Linked DNA regions of Homo sapiens: all the other regions are linked to region 1. Evidence: promoter capture Hi-C in 16 types of primary human blood cells and fetal thymus (Javierre and others, 2016). All regions are on one chromosome and are shown on one strand. Each heading gives the region's core, a stretch centred on a gene start or on the middle of the fragment in contact. The rest is flanking DNA. Distances are from core to core; before and after follow the strand shown.

The links. The method cuts DNA at HindIII sites, captures the fragments that hold promoters and counts their contacts. A CHiCAGO score of 5 or more calls a contact.
Region 2: a fragment that was not itself captured here is called in contact with the fragment with the promoter of CDH26 in region 1 in 1 of 17 cell types (neutrophils); the score reaches 6.1 in neutrophils.
Region 3: a fragment that was not itself captured here is called in contact with the fragment with the promoter of CDH26 in region 1 in 1 of 17 cell types (neutrophils); the score reaches 7.2 in neutrophils.
Region 4: a fragment that was not itself captured here is called in contact with the fragment with the promoter of CDH26 in region 1 in 1 of 17 cell types (neutrophils); the score reaches 6.1 in neutrophils.
Region 5: a contact is called between a fragment that was not itself captured here and the fragment with the promoter of CDH26 in region 1, in 1 of 17 cell types (neutrophils). The highest score is 5.0, in neutrophils.

What each region holds. Positions count from the first base shown.
Region 1 is chr20:59,955,092-59,960,319 of GRCh38, forward strand. It overlaps CDH26 (cadherin 26), which reads left to right and starts at 3,332. Exons shown (of 18, transcript NM_177980.4): 1 at 3,332-3,704. The coding sequence starts at 3,636. The HindIII fragment of the contact is 452 bases long and covers 2,971-3,422 here.
Region 2 is chr20:60,168,905-60,173,970 of GRCh38, forward strand. All of the region lies in intron 2 of MIR646HG (MIR646 host gene), which reads left to right. Among named protein-coding and RNA genes, the nearest start is that of MIR646HG, 33 kb to the left of the region's middle. The HindIII fragment of the contact is 4,033 bases long and covers 1-3,709 here.
Region 3 is chr20:60,191,392-60,196,587 of GRCh38, forward strand. All of the region lies in intron 3 of MIR646HG (MIR646 host gene), which reads left to right. Among named protein-coding and RNA genes, the nearest start is that of MIR646HG, 55 kb to the left of the region's middle. The HindIII fragment of the contact is 3,955 bases long and covers 1,137-5,091 here.
Region 4 is chr20:60,113,372-60,119,073 of GRCh38, forward strand. No RefSeq gene overlaps it. Among named protein-coding and RNA genes, the nearest start is that of MIR646HG, 22 kb to the right of the region's middle. The HindIII fragment of the contact is 2,269 bases long and covers 1,271-3,539 here.
Region 5 is chr20:60,133,394-60,138,773 of GRCh38, forward strand. MIR646HG (MIR646 host gene) reads left to right here and starts at 5,099. Exons shown (of 5, transcript NR_046099.1): 1 at 5,099-5,251. The HindIII fragment of the contact is 1,061 bases long and covers 3,601-4,661 here.

The DNA.
Region 1 (5,228 bases), core at 2,082-4,581:
ATTTGTCATCTTCCCTCAGTCCCACTGTCCACCTAAGTTCCCCTCCTTTCAGCTGGGCATGAGGCCTGGCCAGCCAGACCACTGTCCACGCAGAAATCCAAGCCGGGTGGGGATGCCTCATGATGCAATCATCATTACTAAAAAAAGAACAGTGAGAACTGGAGGTGGCTGGGGGCACTCCTCAAAAACATGAGAAGGTTGACCCTGGGTAGGTAATTGTAGCTCATACCTCCCTTGCAATCAAGTAACTTTTATCTCATGAGCAATCTCATTTCTTCACTTGTCAGCTTACAGGGAGCTGGGAGCTGCCACCATGTGGCTATAAAGTATTACTGTACTTCCAAGGACACAGAAAGGAGCGCTAGACTATTGTCACTATGATCACATGCTCAGAATAGAAAGGGAGTGGGGACATCTTCAAGCTCAGGCTCACCCAAGATGTGCAGCAGGTGATGCCCAGAATCACCAGCTGAGTTCCAGGCCCCGTGGCCTACCCAAGTAGGGTTGCCGTGTGGGGAACTGGCATTCTGCTTAGTTATTTTAAACGCTTGAGAATGTTGAAAACTTGTTTGTTTCTAATATATTAAAATACCAGTTCCTATGGTGTTTTTTGTTTTGTTTTGTTTTGAGATGGAGTTTCACTCTTGTTGCCTAAGGCTGGAGTGCAATGATGTGATCTCAGCTCACTGCAACCTCCGCCTCCCGGGTTCAAGGGATTCCCCTGCCTCAGCCTCCGGAGTAGTTGGGATTACAGGTGTGTGCCACCATGCCCGGCTAATTTTAAAATACCAATTTCTTTTAAACTTAAAACGAATGTGAAAGTGGAATCCTTCACTGTTGTCCCCCAGCTCCGCCCAGACTAGAACATTGTGAGGCTAATGCCTTTCTAGCAACAATATTTTAGTCCCCAGCGCTATTCTAGCAGCAGGGAGTGCTCAACTGACGTGGTTTTTTCACATATATTTAACATGGTTTAGCTCACCTGACTTATATATTCTAAATTAGTGATTCTAACTTAATCAGTTTTTTAAAAATAGGCTATCATTATAGAAATATCCACTTTGAAAATAGGCACAAGGTATTCAGTTTCTCTTTATGCACAGGAAATATCTATAGACTTTAAAGTTGTATTTATTATTCTTTTCAATAATAAGCTATTAATTTCAATAAAAATAAACTATTCAAATTAAAATATTCAGCAGCATCTCAGAGCTATGAATGTTCAGTTAAGCAAAGAAAGTTTTTTTTTTTTAATTGGGAGATTTTTATTTTATATTTTATTTTTGATGAGTTCTTTTTTATTTTTATTTTTTAATTTTATTTTTCCATAAGTTATTGGGGTACAGGTGGCATATTGGTTACATGAGTAAGTTTTTCAGTGGAGATTTGTGAGATCCTGGTGCACCCATCACCCAAGCAGTATACACTGCACCATATTTGTTGTCTTTTATCCCTCACCCTCTTCCCACTCTTCCCCCCAATTCCCCAAAGTCCATTGTATGATTCTTATGCCTTTGTGTCCTCATAGCTTAGCTCCCACAAATCAGTGAGAATATACAATGTTTGATTTTCCATTCCTGAGTTACTTCATTTAGAATAATAGTCTCCAATCTCATCCAGGTCACTGCAAATGCTGTTAATTCATTCCTTTTTATGGCTGAGTAGTATTCCATCATATATATCTGTATATACACATATATATACATATATATGTGTATATATATGTGTATGTATATATATACATATATGTGTGTATATATGTGTATGTATATATATACATATATGTGTGTATATATGTATGTATATATGTGTATATATGTACATACACATATATACACATATATGTGTATATATACATATATGCGTGTATATATGTACATACACATATATACACACATATATGTGTATATATGTACATACACATATATACACGCATATATGTGTATATATACATATAGATACGCATATACACATTTTCTTTATCCACTAGTTGATTGATGGGCATTTGGGTTGGTTCCACGATTTTGCAATTGTGAATTTTGCTGCTATAAACGTGCATGTGCAAGTATCTTTTTCGAATAATGACTTCTTTTCCTCTGGGAAGATACCCAGTAGTGGGATTGCTGGATCAAATGGTAGTTCTACTTTTGTTCTTTAAGGAATCTCCACACTGTTTTCCATAGCAGCTGTACTATGTTATATTCCCCCCAGCAGTGTAGAAGTGTTCCCTGATTGTCACATCCACACCAACGTCTACTGTTTTTTGATTTTTTGATTATGGTCATTCTTGCAGGAGTAAGGTGGTATCGCACTGCGGTTTTGATTTGCGTTTTGCTGATCATTGGTGATGTTGAGCATTTTTTCATATGCTTGTTGACCATTTGTATATCTTCTTTTGAGAATTGTCTATTCATGTCCTTATCCCACTTTTTGATGGGATTGTTTTTTTCTTACTGATTTGTTGGAGTTCATTGTGGATTCTGGATATTAATCCTTTGTCAGATGTATAGATTGTGAAGATTTTCTCCCACTCTGTGGGTTGTCTGTTTACTCTGCTGACTGTTCCTTTTGCAGTGCAAAAGCTCTTTAGTTTAATTAGGTCCCAGCTATTTATCTTTGATTTTATTGCATTTGCTTTTTGGTTCTTGGTCATGAAATCCTTGCCTAAGCCAATATCTAGAACAAGCAAAGAAAGTTTACCTTTTATTTTATCTGTTTACTACTTTAAACAAGGTAATGTGATAAAAAGGTCATGTTAAGGTAATCAGGGTTAATGTATCACAGATTGTGTTTTAAAACTTGCTTACTGCAACCTTAAGTATTGGTATAATATAATCTCAAATTGTCTCTTTCAGAATTCTCATGCAAAGACTCCCGGGTTGCCACAGAGATCCCTGTCCATAGGGAGGCTCTTTCCCATCTCTCCTCCCTCCCACTTTAATTCCAAACTCAAAAAGGCAGATTAATCTAAGCTTAAAAAAGGTTTTAGTAGAAATAATTTGAAAACCCCAGAGCCCTGGGATATTGTTGGAATAACGATTTTTAGTGCTTTGGAAAGTAAAAGTTGATTTTTCTTTTCTTTCATTCTTCCCCATCCCTTCCCCCTTAATAAAGTTATCATTCTTGTCATTTTCTAGTTTTTTTTGTTTGGTTCAAGAGGATAAGATTATAGAAAATAGTCACTAACATATCCTGCTATAGAAAGAGATGATTGGACCTTCTATTTGGAAACCAGAACAAACAAGGAAACAAAGAAACAAATAATTCTGCTTTCCGATAGGTGCTGGTTTTACTTCCGCTGGCTGAGCTGTTGTTCCTGAGGTCAGACCCCAGCCAGTCTTTTGTGTACGTGCAGGACCATGGTGGCTTTAGTTTCTACCCCACCCTTCCTAGGAACTCTACTTGTGGCAAACGTATGTTCAAGCTTACAAGTCAGCCCACCCCACTCTGATAAATGCAAGAAAAGCTGAAAAGGGAGGAGCAAGATGGGATGAAAGCATCTGGGCCAAAGTGACCTGAAAACCTTTAGAGAAGAAGCTGCTGGCTGAGAAGGAGGTGTGTGGCTCCGGTGAGACCACCAGCTTGGAGGACTGGTCATCAGCTGCACGTTCTGGGTCTGTCTTGGGTATTCCCATATGGCCATGAGATCCGGGAGGCACCCCTCGCTGCTGCTGCTTCTAGTGCTGCTGCTGTGGCTGCTGCAGGTAAGCTGAGCCTGCAGCCTAGTGCTCAGGTGCAGGGAACTGAAAGCAAAGCACAAGCTGGCCCTGCCCCTTCTAGGCTAAGGGAGGGGAGAGGGACTGAGTGTGACCTGCTGGGACCCAGGGCTGGCTGTCTTGAGAATGGCTTAGGTAGCAGGGGCTCTGGATTTATATAAAGGGAAGTTAAGGGTCCCAGTCTGTTTGGGGCAACAGTGGGAGCAGGCTAAGGGACCTGTTTAAAACTAATTTATATAGTTCACACTATTTTTAGTGAGATTACATCAACACACACGTGTTTTCTTTCTTTGTTTCTTTCTCCTTTTGTTGAGACAGGGTCTGGCTTCATCATCCAGGCTGGAGTGCAGTGGCATGATCAAGGCTCACTGCAGCTTTAACCTCCCAGGCTCAGGTGATCCTTCCACCTCAGCCTCAAGAGTAGCTGGGACTACAGTAACTTACCACCACGCTGGCTAATTTCTGTATTTTTTATAGAGATGGATTTTCACCATGTTGCCCAGGCTGGTCTCGAACTCCTAAGCTCAAGTGATTTATTCGCCTTGCCCTTCCGAAGTGTTGGGTTTACAGGCATGAGCCACCTCACCCAGCCAACACACACAATTTTTTTTTTTTTTTGAGACAGGGTCTCGTCATCCAGGCTACAGTGCGTGGTGACATCTCAGTGCACCGCAACCTCCTCCTACTGGGTTCAAGCAACCTCCTGGCTCAGCCTCCCGAGTACTGGGACTACAGGTGCACGCCACCATGCCCGGCTAGTTTTTGTATTTTTATTAGAGACAGGGTTTCACCATGTTGGCCAGGCTGGTCTCAAACTCCTGACCTCAAGTGATCTGCCTGCCTCAGCCTCCCAAAGTGTTAGGATGACAGGCTTGAGACACTGCGCCCTGCCAAGTTTTATAATGATACTTCTGTTCACACTTTACATAAGATTGAGGAAATCTCAGTTGTCTGGATCCAAGGCAATTTGAGCAAACCCATGGGGATGGAATGGCTAAATCCATTGCCCCCAACTGCCACTGTTTAAATGGGAATACAAACTAGTGGAGTCAGGATTCGAAACACATGGGCTTGCTCTGTTTGTACTTAGAGTGGACAGAGGTAATGTTGCATGCGCTTGTTGGTTATGATCTGCTTCGTTGGCTTTCTGTAGGTAGGGAGAGGGAATCATTTCTTCCTTTGAATACCAGCTGAGGGTGGGAAGCAGCCCAGTGGCTGGTAACTGTGAGCTCTGGACTGGGCTGCTTGGCGTCCTGACCTAGGCTCCTTCACAGCCCGCTGGGGACCTAGGCCAGCTTAACTTTGTTCCTTACCTTGGATCAAGTTGAACTTACCTAGGGAGCTTCAAGGGATCTCAGTGCCTGGGTTTTGCCCCCAAAGGTTCAGGTTGAGCTGACCTGGGAGTGCACTGGGTGTCAGTGCACTGGTTTTAACATAACCTTGTTAAGCCTATTTTTCTTCACCTGAAAATGGAGCTAGTAACTGAATTTATCTGAGCCAGTGGTTGTACCA
Region 2 (5,066 bases), core at 443-2,942, 210 kb after region 1:
TTCTAAGTCAGGATGAGTTAGGTGCTGGTTCCTTGCAGCTGAAATCATCCTAGCTGATGTGGACCTGCTTCTGCCCAGTGCCTCCACCCTTTAACCACTCTTAGCACTCACACAATGCTGAGGCTGTCTTCATTTAATTGAAAGGTTAATTATAGGTGGAGGTCTGTTGTAGAATATGTGGTTATTTTGGTCTCTGCAACAGTAAACAGGTTTGACAGTGCTCTGACTGACTTGACTGGATGGATGGATTGTTGATATGACATAATTCTAGCTATTAGCTGTCAATCCTTTCATCCTGAAAGATGCTGTTTTCTCATTTCTTTACACTGGTTTGACAATTTATACAGCTTGAAATGCTTTCCTATGCATTATCTCATCTGATCATAAATCCACACTTGGGGTTATAGAATAGACATTTTCTACTTTTTCAGTGGAGGAAGCTGAGACAGCAGCCGCCCCAGGCCAACATAAACATAGAATCCAGGGCTCCCCATGAAATGTGTGTGACCTCCCTGGCTCCACATGGATGGGCCAGTCTAATCAGTGTCTGCATTGTTGGTCTGCATTAGGCTATAAGCGACTGAATACAGTGACTCAGACCAATCCAAGCAGCAAGGATATCCATGGTGCTATGTAACAAGAAATTCGGAGTCAGAATGCGGTCTAGGCATGGATGTCAGGCTCTGGAGACTATCTGCATTTTTCTGGTCTCCCATTGCCTTTGAGGGATTGGCGTCATCCTCCAGAGATGGCAAGGTGGCCACAGCTGATCCAGGCATTATCTGACTCAACAACATCCAGGAGCAGGACCTTCTCTTCTCCTGTTCTTTATTGGAGCCTGGAAACCTTTTCCATAAGGACATGCAGCAGACATTTCCATTTTATCTGCACTGGGTCCATGCCCACTCCCCCATCAGTCATTGAAGGGGAAAGGGAGCCTATAATCCTCTTAGAATAACCTGCTGATGAGAATCAGTTGTTGGATAGTGAACCACAGTAACCCCCACAGCATGCATCTAAAATGCGCTGACCTAGAGTATGCAGCAGGTGAAGAAAGTTGGCCTGGACATGGTGGATGGCTGCTGTCACAGCCCCTCATTTGTTCATGCCTCTCTGTGTCCTGGTATTTGCGTCAGTGTGGTCCACTCTCACGCTGACTCAGGACCTGGCCAGAGGACTTGTTTAGGTCAATGAGAAAAAAATCAAATATTACACAAAGGGCTTGTCTTCTATTTGCTCTTGGGAACTGTTACGGACTGATTGCATCCCACTAAAATTCATAGGTTGAAGCCCTAACTCCCAATGTGACTGTATTTGAATGTAAAGCCTTTAAGGAAGTAATTAAAGTTAAATGTGGCCAGAAGGGTAGGGCCCTACTCTGATAGGACTGTGTTCTTATAAGAGGAGGGAGAGATACCAGAGACTACTTCCTCTCCACAGGCTCACAGAGGAAAGGTCACATGAGGACAGAGCAAGAAGGCACCCGTCCACAAGCCAGGAAGAGAGGCCTCACTGGAAACCAGTCCTGCTGGCATCTTGATCTTAAATTTCCAGCCTTCAGAACTGTGAGAAAGTGAAGTCATATTGTTTAAGGCCCCCCATAGTCGGTGGTATTCTGTTATGGCAGTTCTAGCAAACTCATACAAGAACTTTACAACCACCATCCCAAGAACAAGCCTGGGCAGGCCTGCTGGGTGATAAAAGATGGGACACCTAGGTACCTTCATGGCCTCAGCCTGCAGCCAGCCAGCCTGTAGGCAGGCACGTTAGTTCAATGACCACCAGCTGACCACAGATGAGTGAGTCTAGTGAGACCAGTAGAAGAGCTACCTACTTGAGCCCAGCCCAGGTTTCAGACACACATAATTAAAAGCCAAATAAATGCTTGTTTTAAGTCACTGAGTTGTGGGGAGGTTTGTTATTCAGCTATACGTAATCGACACATGTAGGATATAGAGGTTTTCAGCCACATACTCAATTGAAACAACTTGAGTTGCACATCCTTTGTTGGTCTGATTGGGAATGCAATTTATTGACACTGTTGGTCAAAGCCATATCTACAGGGATCAGGTAGTCAGGCAAATGAGCAAGACAAGCTGCATAGAAAAATAATCATCAGGCCCTTTTAGTTTGAGTTTTGTTGTACATATTTGGATAAATGTACAGATACAGAAATAGCCACAGACCATAGGAAAGCAACTGTCTAAGAGAGGTGCCGGATGACAACTGGTACACACAGTCTCAAGGATGGGGATTCAGTAGGGAGTGGTGGGGACTATGGGGAGCTGGAATGAGCATGTCACTAACAGAGATAGCCACTGTTCCGCTCCAGCCCTTGTTGCTATGTAGGCATGTGGGCCCAGTGTTTTGCTATGAGAATTTCCAATTTTTCAACAAATACCAGAAATCTGGATTTTTATGTAACATTTTATATTTTTAAAACACTGATTCACTTGGAAGTAAAACACTGAACAGGCAAAATAAAACTCATTTTAGGCTAAACTGCCACTTTGTAATGTCTGCTCTGCACAAACTGGCTAACAGTAGAGTTAGAAGTCAGTAAACTACCCTGATGTCAAGTGGCTGGTTTGGCTGAGTTTTTACTTTCCTATTTGTTTGGGATTTGCATATTTATAGTGTACAGATGCAAATGAAAGGCTTTGCAGAAAAGTGGATTCTGAATCCAAAATATAATAGACAGGAAATAAAACAATGAAAAAAATACAGTCTTTGATTGCAGGTCTTTCTGCCTCCAAGCTCAGAGAAAACAAACAAAATGCAAAAACCTAATATGGGTAAACCCAGTAAGAAAAGTTTTTCAAAATCAGAAAACAAATAAATGGGGGTTTGGACCTTTGCATTCCAAAATTATTCTCAGCCAGATGGTGAATTTCTTGAATTAAGTCAGGGACCAGATTTTATTTATTTTTGTATCCAGGGCAGCTGGAAGCATCGAATCAAGTTTAAGTGAATGAATGAATCAATGAATGAATATTTCACATGGATTTATAGGTAATTAACATATGGCCCATGTGTTGGGGAGTGGCCCTGTGTGCGTTACCACCATGCTGTTTGGAGTCAGGAGACATGGCTTTTTATCTGACCTACTCTTCCGTTTTAGCCACATTAGTTATGTAACCTCTGTGTGTCTCCATTTCTCATGTGTGAAGTGAGGATAATAAAAAATGCATACCTGTTAGTGCTGTGAAGATGCGATGGAACCTGCCTGTAACTGTACTTCATGGCCTGACATGGAGCTCGGGTCCAGTAAATGTTTCTGAGGTTGATGCCTAGTTAGTTTTAAACAGTGGATTACCAGGGGAGTGGGCAGGAGAAGATGACACCTACTTTACTCCTCTTCAGGGACACGGATTTTGAGTCCAGCAACCTGAATTTGGACTAGCTTATGCCAACACATTCTTTCTATGGATTCTGTGAGAATCAGCTCAGGTCACCTCTTGGGCAGAGGTCTGAGGAATCTGGAAAGCAACCCAGTGCTGTTTCCAAAGCATTGTCAACAGCAATGAGGCAGATGCTGCCCTTGGGAATGATTCTTTGCTACAGAATTGGCCATTTTCAGCAACACACAGTGATGTTGTAATAAGGAGATAAAACATGTGAGTCTATAGCCGGCCTTTTATGGGGTGTTCGATGCATCCCAGTTGTTCTTAAATAAGCAAAGAGAAATTGCATCCTCTAGGCCGGTGGAAGCTTGCGGCTTTTCATTTTCTGCCTCTTTTTGGGTATTGTTGCTTTCCTTTTCACTTTGCTCTAATAAGGAATGTTCTCTCTAGAGCAAAATAAATGCCAATCTTATGCGTTTCTGAAGGGAGAGCTATTGTGGTTGGAAACTACTGAATAATTCTCAGAGTATTATTTTGTCATTATTACTCAACCTTTACTATCATATTCCTGATGTTGGCTGGGACCTCCTGGTCCTCTGAGGCACATAGACAAGGTCAGGGCCAGCTCCCATCACGTCCCATACTCGGAAAGGAAAAACCTGCACTGAAACTTCTCCTCTCCTCCAGTGGGCAGCAGGGTGAGCGGTGACTCAGAAGGTGGGAGCTCATTCTCATGGCTTCTTTGCATCCCAGGGGACACCTGCCTTGCCTGTGGGCTATTTTGCCCCATGTTGAACCAGATGGAAAAAATCTTTTTCTTTACAAATCATAAATTTGCCCTGTTCACATACAATGTATGTGAATACAGAAACCTTAAAAAAAAAAAAAAAGGCTGGGTGTGGTGGCTCACGCCTGTAATCCCAGCACTTTGGGAGGCTGAGGTGGGCGGATCATGAGGTCAGGAGATCGAGACCATCCTGGCTAACACAGTAAAACCCCATCTCTACAAAAATACGGAAAAAAAAAAAAAAATTAGCCGGGCGTGGTGGCGGGCGCCTGTAGTCCCAGCTACTTGGGAGGCTGAGGCAGGAGAATGGCGTGAACCCGAGGGGCGGAGCTTGCAGTGAGCTGAGATTGCACCACTGCACTCTGGCCTGGGTGACAGAGTGAGACTCCATCTCAAAAAAAAAAAAAAAAATAGAGATAAGAATGATGAGGATGAGGGGGGAAAACTTGTACTGGAATAAAGAGAGAAAAAAAGAAGTTCATGTAGAATAGTCAGGTAATGCTGTTAAAATGCCCTTTGACCACCCCACTCCTTCGCCAGGGAGTTTCTCTGATTCACTCGATATTTCTTGCTCCTCCGTCAGATTGTTCCTAAAACTCCAAACTCTCAGGGTATTTGCAACCTCTGCAAGGTCCACGCTCTAACCTAACAACAAATCCATGAAGACACAGCAGGCAGCAAGGCATCCCTTCAATGGGGCGTGCACCCCTTCAAGAGCAGTTGAAGTTACAAGAGGAATCTTTTATTTCTGTTATGTTTTCAACAATCACATTTACTGGTTAATTAGTGAGGTGAGCGTATGTCCTGGCTTATGCCAGTTGTTCTAGTGTGATTATTAAGAATGCCTGTGGGCACTGTCCAATTGTCCCACTTTCGATCATGAATTAAATGGTCACTCCATATACTTGCTTTACTCATTGCTTATCTGGAGTGGC
Region 3 (5,196 bases), core at 1,864-4,363, 240 kb after region 1:
GCTGTGCTCAGGAAGCTGTGTATAAATCCCACTGGCAAATACTGGGAGTTTCATTTAGAACCTCTCTGAGGGGTAGAGAGAGCTTTAGCCATGGAGGCAATCTGGCCAGGGTGGCAAAGCCCATCAGGTGAAGCTGATGCATCTTCCTAACCCAGTGACATTAAACATTGAACACCCCTCCCTCTTCCTGTGTCTATTCCAGGCTCCCCAGGCTATGTGCTGATTATTTGTGGTACCCCCATTGTCTGCCTGCAGGGAAATAATGCAGGAATCATAGAGACTTTGAGCATCCTGTGCCCAGCATGAGTTACTTCTCATTCTAAAATCAAACAAATGATGCTCTGAATACAAGTTGGCTTCTTATGCCTACCATGCACGGGCAATCTTTTCAATCACCATGATAATTACAGGACATTTTGCTGCCATTTATTGAACACTTATTAGGTGCCAGGCTCCCCAGGAAGCCCTCTGTGCATATTATTTTGTGTCAATCCCCGCTCCAATCCTATGAGGTAGGATTGAGAGAGGGGATTAACAATCCACAGTGTGCAGGTGGCATCACTGGGATTTGAATCTAGGTGGGTTTGATGCCAGAGTCTGTGTTCTTGACCACAAAATGACAGAGATGAGTTACTGTAAGTTAAAAATTGGCATTTGGAGCTTAGACTTCAGCTGTAAAAACTTGGCATATGTGGGGTTGCCATTGTGAGAAGGATCAGCTCTTGATGTGCTGGCAAACCAGCATCTGTAAAGTCTGTGACCACAGCCTGAACCAGGGCACATTTGCAGGCTGAAGAGGACAGTAGAAATCATGATAATGTTGTATAACAATGATGGGGGTCATTGTTTAGAATGAGCTCCGTTTTAGGCGCAACAGACCAACCAGACCAGAATGGATTCATCCATACTAAGTGCCATGTAATCAAACTGACTCATACGGACCAGTTTTCCAAAAAACAGGAGATTCCTAGCAGCAGTTGGAAGAAGCCCCATTTGTCTGAAACAGCATGATACAGAAGTTCCCTCCATTTTGACCTTATAAGGAAAGTAACCTGTAATGCCCATTCTACTTTTTATTCCTTTTTTCAGCCATAAAGTCCATCTCCTTTTCTCAGCTTACAGGATCTTCTTTCTAAAGCTTTAGATGGAATGTTGCCTGACACATGACTCACTAATGAAAGCCAGCTACATCTCTAAACTAAATTGGTGAGAATGCTACTTATTTTTTTTAACAACAGTAATAAGAGGAAGAGTAGAATAGCTAAAACTTAGTAAATGAATATTTGGGTCAAGTGCTGTTCTATGTGCTTTACACATGTTAACTCATTAATCCTTAAAACAAGCCTTTGAGATAAAAACAATGGCATTAGCTGCATTTGGTAGATGAGGAAATGGAGGCACATGGGGGCGAGGTGACTTGGTGACTTGTCCAAGTCATACAGTGGTGAGGAGCAGAGCTGGGATTCAAGCTGGACAGCCTTGGTCCAGAGGGCACATACTTCACTGTGGATCTGTGCCATCCCCTCCATTATTCAGGGCCACAATGGAGGAGCTCTGGGCCTCCTGTGCTGGGTGCTGGCCTGGCCATCCTTTGAGGGGAGGGGGACACTGCCAGGCTCTTGTTGCAGAGGAGGAAGACTAGATGCCCTGCAGTGTCTGGGAGTACTTCTAGCTGCTTCTTCTCAGGTGAGGAGGAATCATTTGATCTGTCAAAATGAGTTTGGGCCAGTGAGGGTTACCCAGGTCACAAACTCTGGTTAAGCAGAAGAGGATCTAGTAAGAGCATGAGAACTCTGCTTGGGAAATGGCAAGATCAAGGGCAGAGTTATGGTCCAGGTAGCAGGAGCTGGCACCAGGCATCTCAACTCAGTGTATCTGGTGGGAATCAGGTTAACTCTTTTCCCTATCTTGTGTCATCTTGGCTAACAGAATATCTGGGGGTTGGTGGAAAGAGAGCTCATGAGATTGCCCCAGCTTGAGTTCCAGTGCCCCTTTACCCCAACATTGCTAAGCAATGAAGCAACGGCAGGGCATCTTGACTTATAGCCAGTAACCAGCCCACCCCACCAAGCAATGGCAGGGCACCTTGAATGACAGCCAGCCTACCCCACTAAGCAATGGCCGGGCACCTTGACTGACAGCCGACATACCCCACTAAGCAATGGCCGGGCACCTTGACTGACAGCCGACATACCCCACTAAGCAATGGCCGGGCACCTTGACTGATAGCCAGCCTCCCCCACTAAGCAATGGCAGGGCACCTTGACTGACAGCCAGCCTACCCCACTAAGCAATGGCAGGGCACCTTGACTGACAGCCAGCCCAGTGCACTAAGCAATGGCAGGGCACTTGACTTATAGCCAGCCCATCCCACTAAGCAAAGGCAGGGCACCTTGACTTATAGCCAGCCCACCCCACCAAGCAATGGCAGGACACCTGACTTGCAGCCAGCCCACTCGACTAAGCAATAGCAGGACAACTTGACTTGTAGCCAGCTCACCCCACCAGCAATGGCAGGATACCTTGACATGGAGCCAGCCTACACTACTAGACAATGGCAGGGAACCTTAACATACAGCCAGCCCACCCCACCAAGCAATGGCAGAATACCTTTACTTATAGCTATCCTACTCAACTAAGCAGGGCACTTTGACCTCCCACCAACCCAAGACCATACACAGTGGGAGAGGGGCAATTTCCCCAAAGGGAGATGGGCATTGTGCAAAAAGTAGGGAAATAGATGTTGGGGTAGCCCAACCCAAGCAAATCCCCTAAAGAAGTGTGTGGTCCACAGCCACCATATTGGGTAAAACAGGGGAGGCAAGTGCTTTGGGTGGTGACTGCAGAAGAGGAGAAACAGTCCCTAACATTCTGCCAATTTACCTGTTAAAAGTCCTGTGTCTCTTCAATGGGTCCTTGCAGTCTCTAGGGAAACTCAATTTCCCATAAATGATGGTTAAAACAATAAAATAATTTCATCAAACTTGGGCATATTACATTTGGCTATCTTTAAAGTGGAAGAAAGTCTGGAATCATCCATTTTCCCTCTCATTACCTTTAATTTCCTTGCCATCATTTTTTTTAAAACCAAGTTAAATCCATTAAAAAGTCAATGAAAATGAATGGGTCTTTACTGGACATGCACACAATGTCCCTTTATGCAGAAATTGCCCGAAAAATTGCCAAAGAATTTACCTCCATAATTGGGATGTCTCTAAAAGTTTAAGAAAGTGCCAGTTTGTCAAAAAGAAAGGTAAAAGGAGATGAAACAAGTTCAAAGGTATTTCAAAAGGAAAAGACTTCAAATGGGAAGTTTCCAAATGATTCCTTTGGTCCTAAGGATAAGATATTTGTGCAGAATAGTTGGCTGGAGGTGCTGGTCCCTCGACACTGCTATGTGGAGGTGAGACCTGTGAGTGCTTGAAGAGAGAGAATGCCAGTGTGCATATCTGCATCCAACAGGGACAGGGGCCCACATATTTTATTGGGAGCAGTTGCTTTTAATTTTTGTAAGGCTTTGAAATTACCAAAATTGGGATGCTTTTGCTCATCATGAAATGGCTAAACTTTGCAGTGAAGGTGTTCTAAAGTAATGTTCCCGAAGAGAATGGACGGAGCACCTCCCTGACCTGCCCCTGCAAATCCTGCTGACTCTTCTGCACAAATACCTTTTCCTACAGTCCCCTCCCCACTGAGAAATCCAGCAAGGCTGGGACTCAGCAAGTGGCTTAGAGCTGTGAGATATGAGACTTCAAGAATGAATGTTGTATAGAAAGAACTTTTGGTACATTGGTCCCTGGAAAAACACAGTTCTGCATAACATTCTATTTTTATAAAATGAATTTTTCTGTGGTCAGTTAAGAGAAACCCATTTGAGCCCTTAGCATTGTGTACATTTGTGTATTCAGGTCTCTTGGGAATCCTACACAAAAGAAATTCAGATAACTTAGTGAAATTCAGTCTCTTTCAAATATATTGAACAATATACCCTTTGTTCCAAGGAATATATTTTTTGGAAATGCTCTTTTTCTTTTTTTTTTTAAGTTTAAGTTCTGGGATACATGTGCAGGATGTGCAGGTGTGTTACATAGGTAAACATGCACCATGGTGGTTTTTTGCACTTATCAACACATCACCGAGGCATTAAGCCTAGCATGCATTAGCTATTTTTCCTGGTGCTCTTCCTCCTCGCACGACCCCTCCCCCGATGACAAGCCCCAGTGTGTGTTGTTCCCTTTCCTGGGCCCATGTGTTCTCATTGTCATCTCCTACTTATAAGTGAGAATATGTAGTGTTTGGTTTTCTGTTCCATGGATAATGGCTTCCAGCTCCATCCATGTCTCTGCAAAGGACATAATCTTGTTCCTTTTTATGGCTGCATAGTATTCCTCAGTGTATATATACAACATTTTCTTTATCTAGTCTATCATTGATGGGGATTTCGGTTGACTCCATGTCTTTGCTATTGTGAATAGTGCTGCAATGAATGTATGTGTGCATGTGTCTTTATAATTAATATTCCTTTGTGTCTATACCCAGTAATGGGATTGCTGGGTCAAATGTTATTTCTGGTTCTAAGTCTTTGAGGAATTGCCACACTATTTTTCACAAGGGTTGAACGAATTTATATTCCCACCAACAGTGTAAAAGTGTTCCTGTGTCTCCATAGCCTCACCAGCATCTCTCGTTTCTTGACTTTTTAATAGTAGCCATTCTGACTGGTGTGAGATGGTGTCTCATAGTGGGTTTGATTTGCATTTCTCTAGTGATCAGTGATATTGACATATTTTTAGTGATCAGTGATGTTGAGCTCTTTTTCATATGTTTATTGTCTTTGAGAAGTGTCTGTTCATGTCCTTCACCCACTTTTTAATGGGGTTGTTTTTTTCTTGTAAATTTGTTTAAGTTCCTTGTAGATTCTGTATATTAGCCCTTTGTCAGATGGATAGATTGTGAAAATTTTCTCCCATTCTATAGGTTGTCTGTTCACTCTGATTGTAGTTTCTTTTGCTGTGCAGAAGCTCTTTAATTAAATCCCATTTGTCAATTTTTGCTTCTGTTACAAATTGCTTTTGAGGTTTTCATTATGAAAGCTTTGCCTGTGCCTAGGTCCTGAATGGTATTGCCTAGATTTTCTTCTAGGGTTTTTATAGTTTTGGGTTTTACGTTTAAGTCTTTAATCCATCTTGAGTTAAT
Region 4 (5,702 bases), core at 1,155-3,654, 160 kb after region 1:
GCCCTCAGACCCAGTGCAAGGAGAGAGAGTGAGCCAAGGGCACAGTCAACTACGTGACCTGGTGCTCAGCAGGCAAGAAGGAGCAGGAGAAGCATGGCTACTCACTGGAACAAGGAGGCTGTGCTGGGGGCCAGGTAGCCCAGGCCAGACCGCAGTGCAGAGAAGAAAGTATTAAAGGCAGAAGCAGACACAGTGAAGGTGGGGGCTCTCCAGGGTTGGCTGGCAAATTTTTCACATGGTCTAATCCCCACTTGACCCAGTTGAGACCCAGACTGCTCAACTAGACACAGGTCGGCCTGACTTCGAAGTGTGAGTTATGTCACTCTGATAGTGGGTCCTAAAGTGCAGATGTGTTTGGGTGATGCTTTTCAGTAGCCTATGGACATGGCACCAAGTGACAATGACTTCCGTGCCTAAGGAGTGTTCTGAATGCAGAACAGGGAGCACCTCCTCCGGGTTGGGAGAGATGCCTCTGCCCCCACCTGCCCAGTATCGGCCTCTGTGCATAGCAGTACTGGGCTTTCCTGGAACCCATGTTTCATGACAAATGAGGCTGGAGATGAAGTCAGCAGGAAGTTGCATGAAACCGGTTGATTCTCTGGTGGAGCTGTGCATGGCAAGGAAGCATCAGCACAGGGAAGTGTGCCTGACCGGATGGCAGATGGGGAAGGATGCTGAGAGAAATTAATGCAAGCTGAGACCATATGTGCACTGATAGGCTCCTCACCACTCTACTGGGTCGAACAGTGTCCCCCCTATAATCCATGTCCACTCAGAACCTCAGAATGTGACCTTATTTGGAAATAGAGTCTTTGCAGATATAACTGGTTAAGATGAGGTTGTACTAGATTAGGGTGGATCTTAATTGGCCAATGTCCTTATAAGAAGAGGAAAATTTGGATGCAGAGATGGACTGAGAAGAAGGCCATGTGAAGAAGGCCATGAGAAGAAGGACTGGAGAGGAATAGCTGCCAGTCATTGATATAAAAATGGAGTCGCTACATCAACCATAGTAAAATGGGGTGCAGCACCCCCACCACATGCCTGACTTATCACAAGACATCCCTGCTTGTATGCCTATGACAGGAACTATGCAAGGAACTCCTCAAAAACACAGGATTCCAGGTAAGCCACTTATGGATGCACATAACTTGTCCAACACTGGCTGCTTCCACCAATGAGCTAACACCAACTCCCGGAATAAGCCCCTGTGATCAATGGTCTTCATTTCAAAACAACTTAAGGTGGACTTCTCCCTTTTGTCTTTAAAAGCTTCTCCTAGTCCCAACCTCTTTGGATGTGCTTATGGCTCACCAGAGAATGCATATCCTGGATTGCAATCCTCTGCTATTCCCGAATCAACTCTTTGGAAAGTCTCTCTCTGTGTTGTTATTTTACAAGGCCAAGTAATACCAGGGATTTCCAGCAACCACCAGAAGCTGGAAGAGGCAAGGAAGGACCCTCCCTAGAGTCTCCAGACAGAAGATGCCTCATAGACACCTCGATTTCAGATTTCTGGCCTTCGGAAGTGAGAGAGAATAAATTCCAGTTGATTTAAGCCACCTGGTTTGTGTGCTTTGTTGGCAGCCCATGAAAGTCATATCATGACTTTTGCAAACTGACCAATTAATAATTAAGAAAAATGGCCTGAGATGGTAAACTGATGAGCATTTTGAAATTCACAAAAATTTGTTCTCACGTTTGTTATCCTGGGTGAATCTTCTGAAGCTGTATGTTAAACACACAAGATTCCTATGTAAACCATGATGTCTTCACAATATTGAGCATATTTTATCTTTTAAAAAAGTAAATTACCCATTCTTGCACAAAAAAGTAGATTTTTGTTGATCTATATTTTTATTTAGAATAAATTTGATGAAATCAGGTGGTGGGACAGCTGGCCCAGCTTGGAATAATGATCCCTCTGGATATATCCTTGTCTTGTTCTCATTTACAACTTTTGAGGCATAAAAGCATATTTTCAAAAAACCAACGCTTCTATATGAAAGCAGATTTATCATTCAGATCCATCATTAATTTCCCAATGACGTTCTGCCTGCCCATAAAAAAGACTTAGAGCTCGTTATGAAAATTTTATTCCAGAGAAAATGGTCTTGGGACATGGTTTGCACTGACCTCTTTTAACCTCTTGTTCCCTGTGTTATTATTATTAAGTAATAATGTTGCTTCCTGCCATTGCCTGCCAACATAACTCTTCCCTCTTTGTACTTCAGGAATCTGGGGACGGTTTTGGTTGCAGAGGGCAGATCAGCACTTTGCCATCGCCCTGTGCTCCTGGCCAGTCCCCATGCCGCTGCTGGGATGACAGTCTTACATCATCTTTTATGAGTACATCAACTTATTTGCAATTACGTTTAGATTGTCTAATAAAACCGGGTGACATTTTAGCTTACAGTTTATGTCCCAGTAAAAGGCTCCAAATGTTATTGCCATAAGAATCTATGTGGCAACCCAACATAAACCTTTTATTTCTAGCTGGACAGCTGACTCTGCGTTTAGCAACAGGAAAGCAGGGAATTGGAGGAGCGGGTTTCGGGGGGCGGTCGTGACAGCAGCCACCTCCTGCGGGTTTTGTTTTCTCTGTCAGGTTCCCCTTCTAGCACTCAAAAGCATCCAGCACTTTCTGAAAAGGAGGCCTGGGAAATGGTTGGACATGTCTCTGTTGTGGGCTCTGGGTGTGAGCCACAGAAGTGAGAGCTGAAGAAACCTCAGAGACCATCAGGCTTCCTCGTGGGATAGTTTTGGGTCCTTAGGAAATTAGGCCTTGGCACTCAGCTTAGATGACTTCCATTACAGTCCTATAGGTGTGAAATAAACATCTGGCTCAGAGGTTCTCCACTGAGGGCCACCATGGGTCAGTGTCTGGAGACATTTTTGGTTGTCACACCTGGGGGCAGTGCTGAGACTACTGTGTGCGCATTCATCTAGCGGGTGCAGGTGGGATGCTGCTGACACGTAACATGCACAGGGCAGCTCCGCCACAGAGAAAGATCCAACCCCGAATCTCGGCATGACGGAGGCTGAGAAATCCTGATCTAAGTGATAGCTTACTAAGCAAGGCCTTGGCGTTCAGAAGCGGTTGCCTGATTTCCTTCTTTCCTTTTTGAGTCATGGTTTTGTTGAGTTCTTGAAAGTGATAGACCTGCTGTAAATAAAATCACTGGATAAAGTTGGCGAGGGGTGGCCTGCCAGCCTCCAACCCCTGCCTGATGTGGGGTGCGTGGCCGGCCAGCCTCCAACCCCTGCCTGATGTGGGGTGCGTGGCCAGCCAGCCTCCAACCCCTGCCTGATGTGGGGGGCGTGGCCGGGCAGTCTCCAACCCCTGACTAATGGGGGGGGCGTGGCCGGCCAGCCTCCAACCCCTGCCTGACGGGGGTAAAATAGTGAAAAGCAAAAGCACCTGGTGTTTTTAGGAGACAGGAGACACAACAACTGAATATGTGGGCAGATTTGGGGGAAGAAAGAAATGAGCCCCAATGACCTGCTTCAGTTTTCTATTGAAAGAAATGCAACTTGGAAGCTTCATTTTTTTTTTTTAAGCACATCCTTTAAAAACATTGCCCAGTGCGTTTGGAAGTAGCCTTCCAGAAACCCTTGGGATTTATGACCCCAAAGTATGCTCACAGGTGCTCCCAATGAACCTTTAGGTGTAACGTGGATGAAGTGTGGAATGTGCCGTGACTCCTGCCTCTTAAAAGCTTACAGATTCCAGAAATGAAACCAGTTCATGCATAAAATATCTTCTCTCAGAGCACGGTCATTTTCATGCTTCCCCTTGTGTGATGATCAGGGTTATAAAGTATTGTGGTTATACCAGAAGATCCTCAACTGTGTGGAAAGAGGCTCTTCTATTTATAGCTCTCCCCATCGTGACTTACAGCATATGTGTTAATCTCCCTGTGAATTCTGAGCTCCCAAATGCTGAAGGAGATATGCTAAACCCTTTCCCCGTGGCGTTCTTCCAGACAGAATTTAAGAGACACCAGAGGATGGCACATTTATACTGAGCTTGCAGTTTCCTAAACATGAAGAAGATGAACGGCTCTCAGTTAAGCAGCACGGGTCAGATAGGAGCTTGAAATTGAATATTTGAGCTGACACGGGAGAGACATACTGTGAGTGGCCCCACGAAGTTAGCTGGATCTCTAAGCTTCCTAAGACACCATGATTAGAAATAGATTGAGGTCAGGGTATGCGGTCCTATTTGAATTAATGAAAAGCCAAATTGCTCCTCAGAGTGCTGGTTTTTGTGCTGCAGGTCAGACCACTGGGTTTTGTGGACCCTTTGCAGAGGTCGGGGGAGCAGCTGGGCTCTGTCCTTTTCTCACCTTTCGTCTTCTATCTCTTATAGTTTGAGATTCCAAATACGATTTCTGTGGAGAAAACAAAAAAGGACTCTGTTTTTAATTCAAAAGGTGAGGCATGGTTAATTAAAACATTGATGTGAACTGTTTTAAAAGAAAAAAATAATTGGTTTACTTTTGAGTGCTGAAGAGTCTTGGCAGAGTGGAAAGTAAATGGGCTTTGCTATTGATCAGACTTTGGTCAAAATCTATGTGCCACTTACTAGTCCTCTGACCTCAATCCTGCTGATTCTTAGTTTCCTTGTCTTTAACATGGGGATAGTAATTCATACTTTCAATGGGCACTGGGAGGTCATAGAGAATGACACCCACAGCTCCCTTTGATGGCAGCTGTGGCAGAGGGTCCAGACAACAGGTCTGCTTAAACAAAGAGGTGGGTAATGATGGCAGTTGGTGAATGGAGGTCTTGGTTCCCCTACCGCAGGTCCCTACTGACCTTTCTAAGCCCGGAATCATTTAGAGTTCTTTGGTAGCAAGCAATAGAAATGAGCTCTGTCTATTTTAAGCAAAAATGAATTTGCCTAAAGTCTGCTGGGTGGCTGGAATGGACAGGAATGCTGTAGGATCAGGCTCTCGAGCCAGAGAGAAACCAGGGCAGCCCCCTTCAAAGAACAGAACAGATGGGCGAGTTTGTTGGGCATTTCCAATGGAAATAAGCTGATGCCCTTTAGTTTTTCTTTCTTCCCTGATCTGACTCCTTCTAACTTTGTTTGGGTCACAAGCCTGGTTCTTAAGGGAGGACAGAGCACTTAGACTAAAATGCATGAAACCTCTGCACAGTGGGGCAGAGGTGAGCTCTCCAAGTACACCCAGATATTGTTAGGATGTGGGAAGGGATGCTGGGAACCAAAATGCTAACAGTGCACTGCAGGCTTCATCTGTCCCGAGCTTCAGAACACCTTGCCTACCCAAAGCCATCCTCCTCTCTTAAGTTTGCTTACTTCAGCCACCCTCGGCTGCCAACTGGATAAAAAGTATGGTCAGTCCCAAGTCATCTGCCCCTGCTTGTTTATCTGAAGTCAGGATTTTACGGAAGCATCGGCTGCCATGGCAAATATTCTTGTCATCACCAGGCAGATAAGTGACATATGCTACCATCTCAGGGAGTTAGAGAGTCTTTCTAATGATGCACTCCAAAAACTTGATCTGAGATCTCACAAGTTTCCAAGTTAATTAATAACCAGGGTCCCCAGAAACATGAACAAACATTCATTCCCAACATCCTTCCTAAGTAGGTCCTCAATATGTGGATTTGGGATGAAACCTGAATAAATGATTGGCATGCATGCTCTGATGCAAATGCCCAGCTCCCCTATG
Region 5 (5,380 bases), core at 2,881-5,380, 180 kb after region 1:
GAGCTCCTTCTCCGTCTGAGATGAGTAGGGTCTATTGGCGGGCAAGTTCCAATTTAGTAATGAGATCATTATAATCCTGACCTCCTCGGAAGGATCCTTCACACCAGAGCAAGCCACTTCTCTGAATTCTCTCCACCTCTTCCCAGCATGAATTTAGTTCTCACAACTCTCAAAGGAACTCCCATTTCCTGTTTCTCCCCTACTCCTGACCTCACTCTCACTCCCCTTAGCAAAGTTGTTCTGTCCTTCCAGACTCCTTCACGATGGCTTCGCTTCATCTCACAAATGAGACGCTGAACACTGCTACTTCCACACACTGTGCTTTGTCCCTTCAGGGACAGAGCTGGGGCCTGGTTTCAGCTCATAAAGAGCTCACAGTCTTGTGCTGTTTCTTGGACCAACAGAGTCAGAAATAGCAGAGGTTCTTGTGAGCACATAGAATGTTCTGGAGCCCATCTCAGATCTTTAAATGAGACACTTTGGGGTCAGAGTCTGGCCTCCTCCTTTTACTACACAAGACCCCTGGCTTGGTTAGGGGTTCACCCTTACACCAAACTCCTAGAGTGGTTGATGGTTTCACCCTCTGTGGTGGTTGATCTTAGGTGTCACCTTGACTGCGCCTCTGGGTGCCCAGGTTAAACATTGCTTCTGGGTGGGTCTGTGAGAAGCCTTCCCAAAGAGATTAGCATTTGAGTTGCTGGACTCAGCACAGTAGATTGACCTGCCCCACAGGGATGGGCATTACCCAATTTGTTGAGGGCCTGAATAGAACAAAAGATAGAGAAAGAAGGAATTCGCCTTTTTTCTTGACTCCCTGCTTGAGGTGGGACATCTCATCTCATCTTCTCCTGCTATCACAATAGGATTTACACCTCAGCTCCCCTGTGTCTCAGAGCTTTGAACTCCAATTATACCATGGGCTTTCCTGGGTCTCCAGCTTGCTAATGGCAGACTGTGGGACTTCTCAACCTCCATCACCACCTGAGTCAATTTCTTTTTTCTTTTTTCTTTTTGTTTTTTTTTTTGGAGACAGAGTCTTGCTCTGTCACCCAGAGTGGAGTGCAGTGGTGTGATCTCTGCTCACTGCAACCTCCGCTTCCTGGGTTCAAGTGATTCTGCTGCCTCAGCCTCCCGAATAGCTGGGCCTACAGGCATATGCCACCATGCCTGACTAATTTTTCGTATTTTAGTAGAGATGGGGTTTCACCGTGTTGCTCAAGCTGGTCTCAAACTCCTGAGCTCAGGCAATCTGCCCACTTTGGCCTCCCAAAGTGCTAGGATTACAGGCATGAGCCACCGTGCCCGGCCACAAGTCAGTTTCTTATAGTAAATCTCCCCACACCCATATGTGTGTGTGTGTGTGTGTGTGTGTGTGTGTGTATATATATATATATACACACACACACATATATGATATATATATACACACATATATAATATATATACATATATAATATATATATACACATATAATATACACATATATAATATATATACACATATATAATATATATATACACACACATATATATAAGATATATATAATATCTCCTATTGGTTCCGTTTCCCTGGAGAACCCTGACTAAACCACCTTCCTAGAGAATCTAGAAAGTAGACTTTGCAGGAACATTTTCTCCCTTTTGCTAGTTGTTTTGTCTTGTGTGAACCTGAAAGAGCCCATTCTCCGAAACAGCTCTTAAGCATCTAACTGGGCCTAGTTTCCAAATAGAGCCAAGCAGCCATTTGCTGACTAGAGGTCACACACATACTCTGTGTTCCAGGAAAGCACACACCCTTGCCATGTAACTTAGGGACATTCAAGGCTGTTTTTTCCTGTTCATGCCACCTGAATCAGTAGCTGTGGGAAAACCTTATTTTCCTCCTGGACCTGAGCAATAGACTGTGACAGCATCGGCCAATCAGAACTGAGCAGTTTACATCCCACAATTGCATAAGTGGCCCAGAGTGGGAGGCTGGGTAAGAGCTTTCTCTATCAAAGACAACCACTCTCTTGGTTCTCTCCGGGCCCACCTTTGTTTTGTACTGAAGGCTGCATCTCCCCAGTTTGCAAACTGCTTGTGCAAATAGAGTCTCTGTTAACCTAATGCTTCTTTCTCAGGTGTTTGGTTAACACTTGTACATGGTAGGCATTCTGTCTATATTTGTTGGGCAGATGTGTGCGTCGAAGTGGTTAAACTTTCCCAGCCAGAGTGGGCATCTCCTCTGGGGTAAGGAGTTGGTGACATGCAGGTACCTGAGGCCCTGCCATGGGTGCATGGGCTGTGATTGTCCATAGACCACGTTAACTTAAACTTCTGGTCTAACACATAGAGTGGGCATCTTCCTAGGAAACCCTGGAAAAGCAGCAGATAGGACTGGCTCTCAGCAGTGACGAAAAGCAATAAGAGGACAAAATGTGGTACTTTACACAATGGAGTACTATTCAGCCATAAAAAAGAATAAGAACCTGTCATTTGCAACAACAGGGATGGAATTGGAGGTCATCATCTTAAGTGAAATAAACCAGGCACAGAAAGACAAACATCACATGTTCTCACTTATTTGTGGGATCCAAAAATCCAAACAATTGAACTCATGGAGATAGAGGGTAGAAGGATGGATACTAGAGGCTGGGAAGTGTTGCGGGGGTGAGGAGGACGGACATGGGGATGAATAAGACCTAGTGTTTGATAGTACAATAGGGTGAGTAGAGTCAACGATAATTTAATTGTACATTTAAAAATAGCTAAGAATATAATTGGATTGTTTGTAACACAAAGGACAAATGCTTGAGGAGATGGATACTCCATTTTCCATAGTGTGATTATGGTGCATTGCATGCCTGTATCAAAACATCTCATGTTCCCCATAAATATATACACCTACTGTGTACCCATAAAAATGTAAAAAAATGATTAAAAGTCTAGATATAATTTAAAAGAGGAAACTGTCTTTGTGTGGAGGCCAGCTGAAGACAGATACTGCATCAGGCACTTGGCAGCCTGGTTTCCAGTAGCTTCTCAACCCAGTGGAGTAGACTCTATGGCCCCATTTTGCAGATGAAGAATGGAGGTGCAGAGAAATCACAGCTCTAGCTTTGTCAGGAGGACCATAGAGGTCCAGGGGCTGGAGGTCTGAATATTTAATAGAGGGATTTGAATAACCATGGAAGTTAGCCTGGAGAGAGATTTAGGAGGCAGATAAGCCTAGTGTTCACTGTGGGGGCAGATGCCTTCCCCATCTGTGCAGACGATTGGCCCAAGTGGCCATGATGACATGGCTCCTACCTACTTCCTAATGGACCTCAGAGAATTAAACAGCGAGGACAACAGCGAGTGTTGTCTCTCAGACCCTTGGCTTTTTCAGGACTGCCTGACCTTTCTTTGTCCTTATTTGGCTTCAAGTCAAGTCAGCTCAACCCTGATTGAGCACCGGCAATGAGTCATGTCTGTGAAGGCGACACAGCCCCTGTCCTTGAGGAGCTTCGAGTCCAGTGACTGTCACTTCAGTGGAAGTTGGGCTGGACACAGTCACATGTGTATGCCAGACATGAGGCTTTGTTCTCATTACAATAATTGCCCTGCATTATTCTAGCAATTAAGCTTCTCCACGTGTGTGGATGCATGTTCCCAATTTTTTCTGGCCTCTACCGAACACAATGTTAATATTTGAGAGCAGTCCTAAAAAATTAAATAATTATACAAACTGAATTAGGATAGCATAATATTACCAATCAGAGTAATGTGGCTTTGTAATCCAGTGTGATGTCATATGAATCTACAAATTAGGAAGCATGTCAGAGGAGGAAACCACATCCTTTATTGCTTTGCCTTAAATAGCTTAAAACTAATCTTTTCCATGAGCCAACAGCTATCTCTCATGTTTAATAATGCTCCTCCCTGCCCAGATGAAGCTAACTAAATGATGTTGCCCCCTGCACCTGCAAATGCCTGGTGCCAGGGCAGGGACACAGGGAATGGCAGAAGGGGAGACCAGATGTTGGCTGAGGCATTGATTTATGGGCATGACCTTCCATGTGCCCCGAGGATGGCTGAGACCAGGGTTTGATGAATGCAGTGCTCTGTGTGAGAAGTTCTAAGGTGACAAGCAAAGATTCTATCCTCTGGAGGGGCAAGCCCTATTATTAGGTTGGTGCAAAAGTAATCGCAGTTTATGCAGTTGTAATGGCAAAAACAGAAATTACTTTTGCACCAACCTAATACCAGACAGAGGAGGTGCAAGTGCATGCCACCAGGGCAGGTGCAGGTGATGGGGGCAGAGAAAACTCAGATGTCTCCAATCTGTGCAGAGTAGGGAAACAGAAAAAGCTAAGTGAGGAAAGTGAGATTGCTATCACACAGATGCATGTCTTAGGTTTTCTGATTCCATTCCTCATGAATTTCATTAAGTAATCAAAGTGCTAAGCATGAAATGTGGGTATGCTGTCACCAGGTGGCAGCAGCATCCACTCTCCAAAATGCATTTTGTTCAAACCTAGTATGTGCTGGGTATTCTGAGCACATAGCAGAGACTAAGGCAAAGAGTCCCTGGCACTGTGGAGCTTAGAGGCTAATGAGGTGGCAGGTGCTTACACTTTAGAAACCGTTGTGAGGAATAGCTAGTGGTAGTTAAATGATACAGTGATAGTTAACAGAGAGGAAAGCTTTTCTCTCACTCCAAGCTATATTTTTATTATCACTATTAATATAAATAGAAAATAAATATTAAAATAGTTATTAAATAAGCAAAAGATAATGTTGCATTTAGTTATACGATTAAGTAGAGGTTTTCAAATATTTTTTAGCTTTGTGCAACCGAAATTATATGAGGAAGCAAAAACCACAAATACAGAAAATAAGAACTTTTCTGTTTGAACAGAAACGAGGACACTGGGGAGGCCCTTCCAATGCAGGCCAGACTTTTAGGGGCTCGACAGAACACAGCTGGAGAAACATCCACACCACACGCGGTTTCACCTGCCACACGGCAGCCCGGGTGCCCGGATCACTGTGTGTGGAGACTCAGGCTCACCGGCAAACCTCTTCCGGTTCCGGTCAGGGTGCTGCCTCCCTATCCACTGGGAGTCCTTTTGCGTTTCAGATGCTCCCAGGCTCTCCCGCAGTTTAAAGACTTAACTCAGCGGCTTTCAGGGCCTGTGGTTGAGGGACTCCGAAAGAACTGTTGCTGGTGGACCGGTTCAGGGTCTTGACTTCGCCACACAAAAGAACTTGAGAGCACGTCCAAAGTAAAGGTAAGCAAGGGAGTTGATCGCACAGCGAAAGCGCACTCTGCCAGCGGATCGGAGCGGCCGCTCAAAGGCGAGGCAGTGCTGGCCGACACTGGGGAAACCCCCTTTATGGGGGTCTTACATGATTATTCA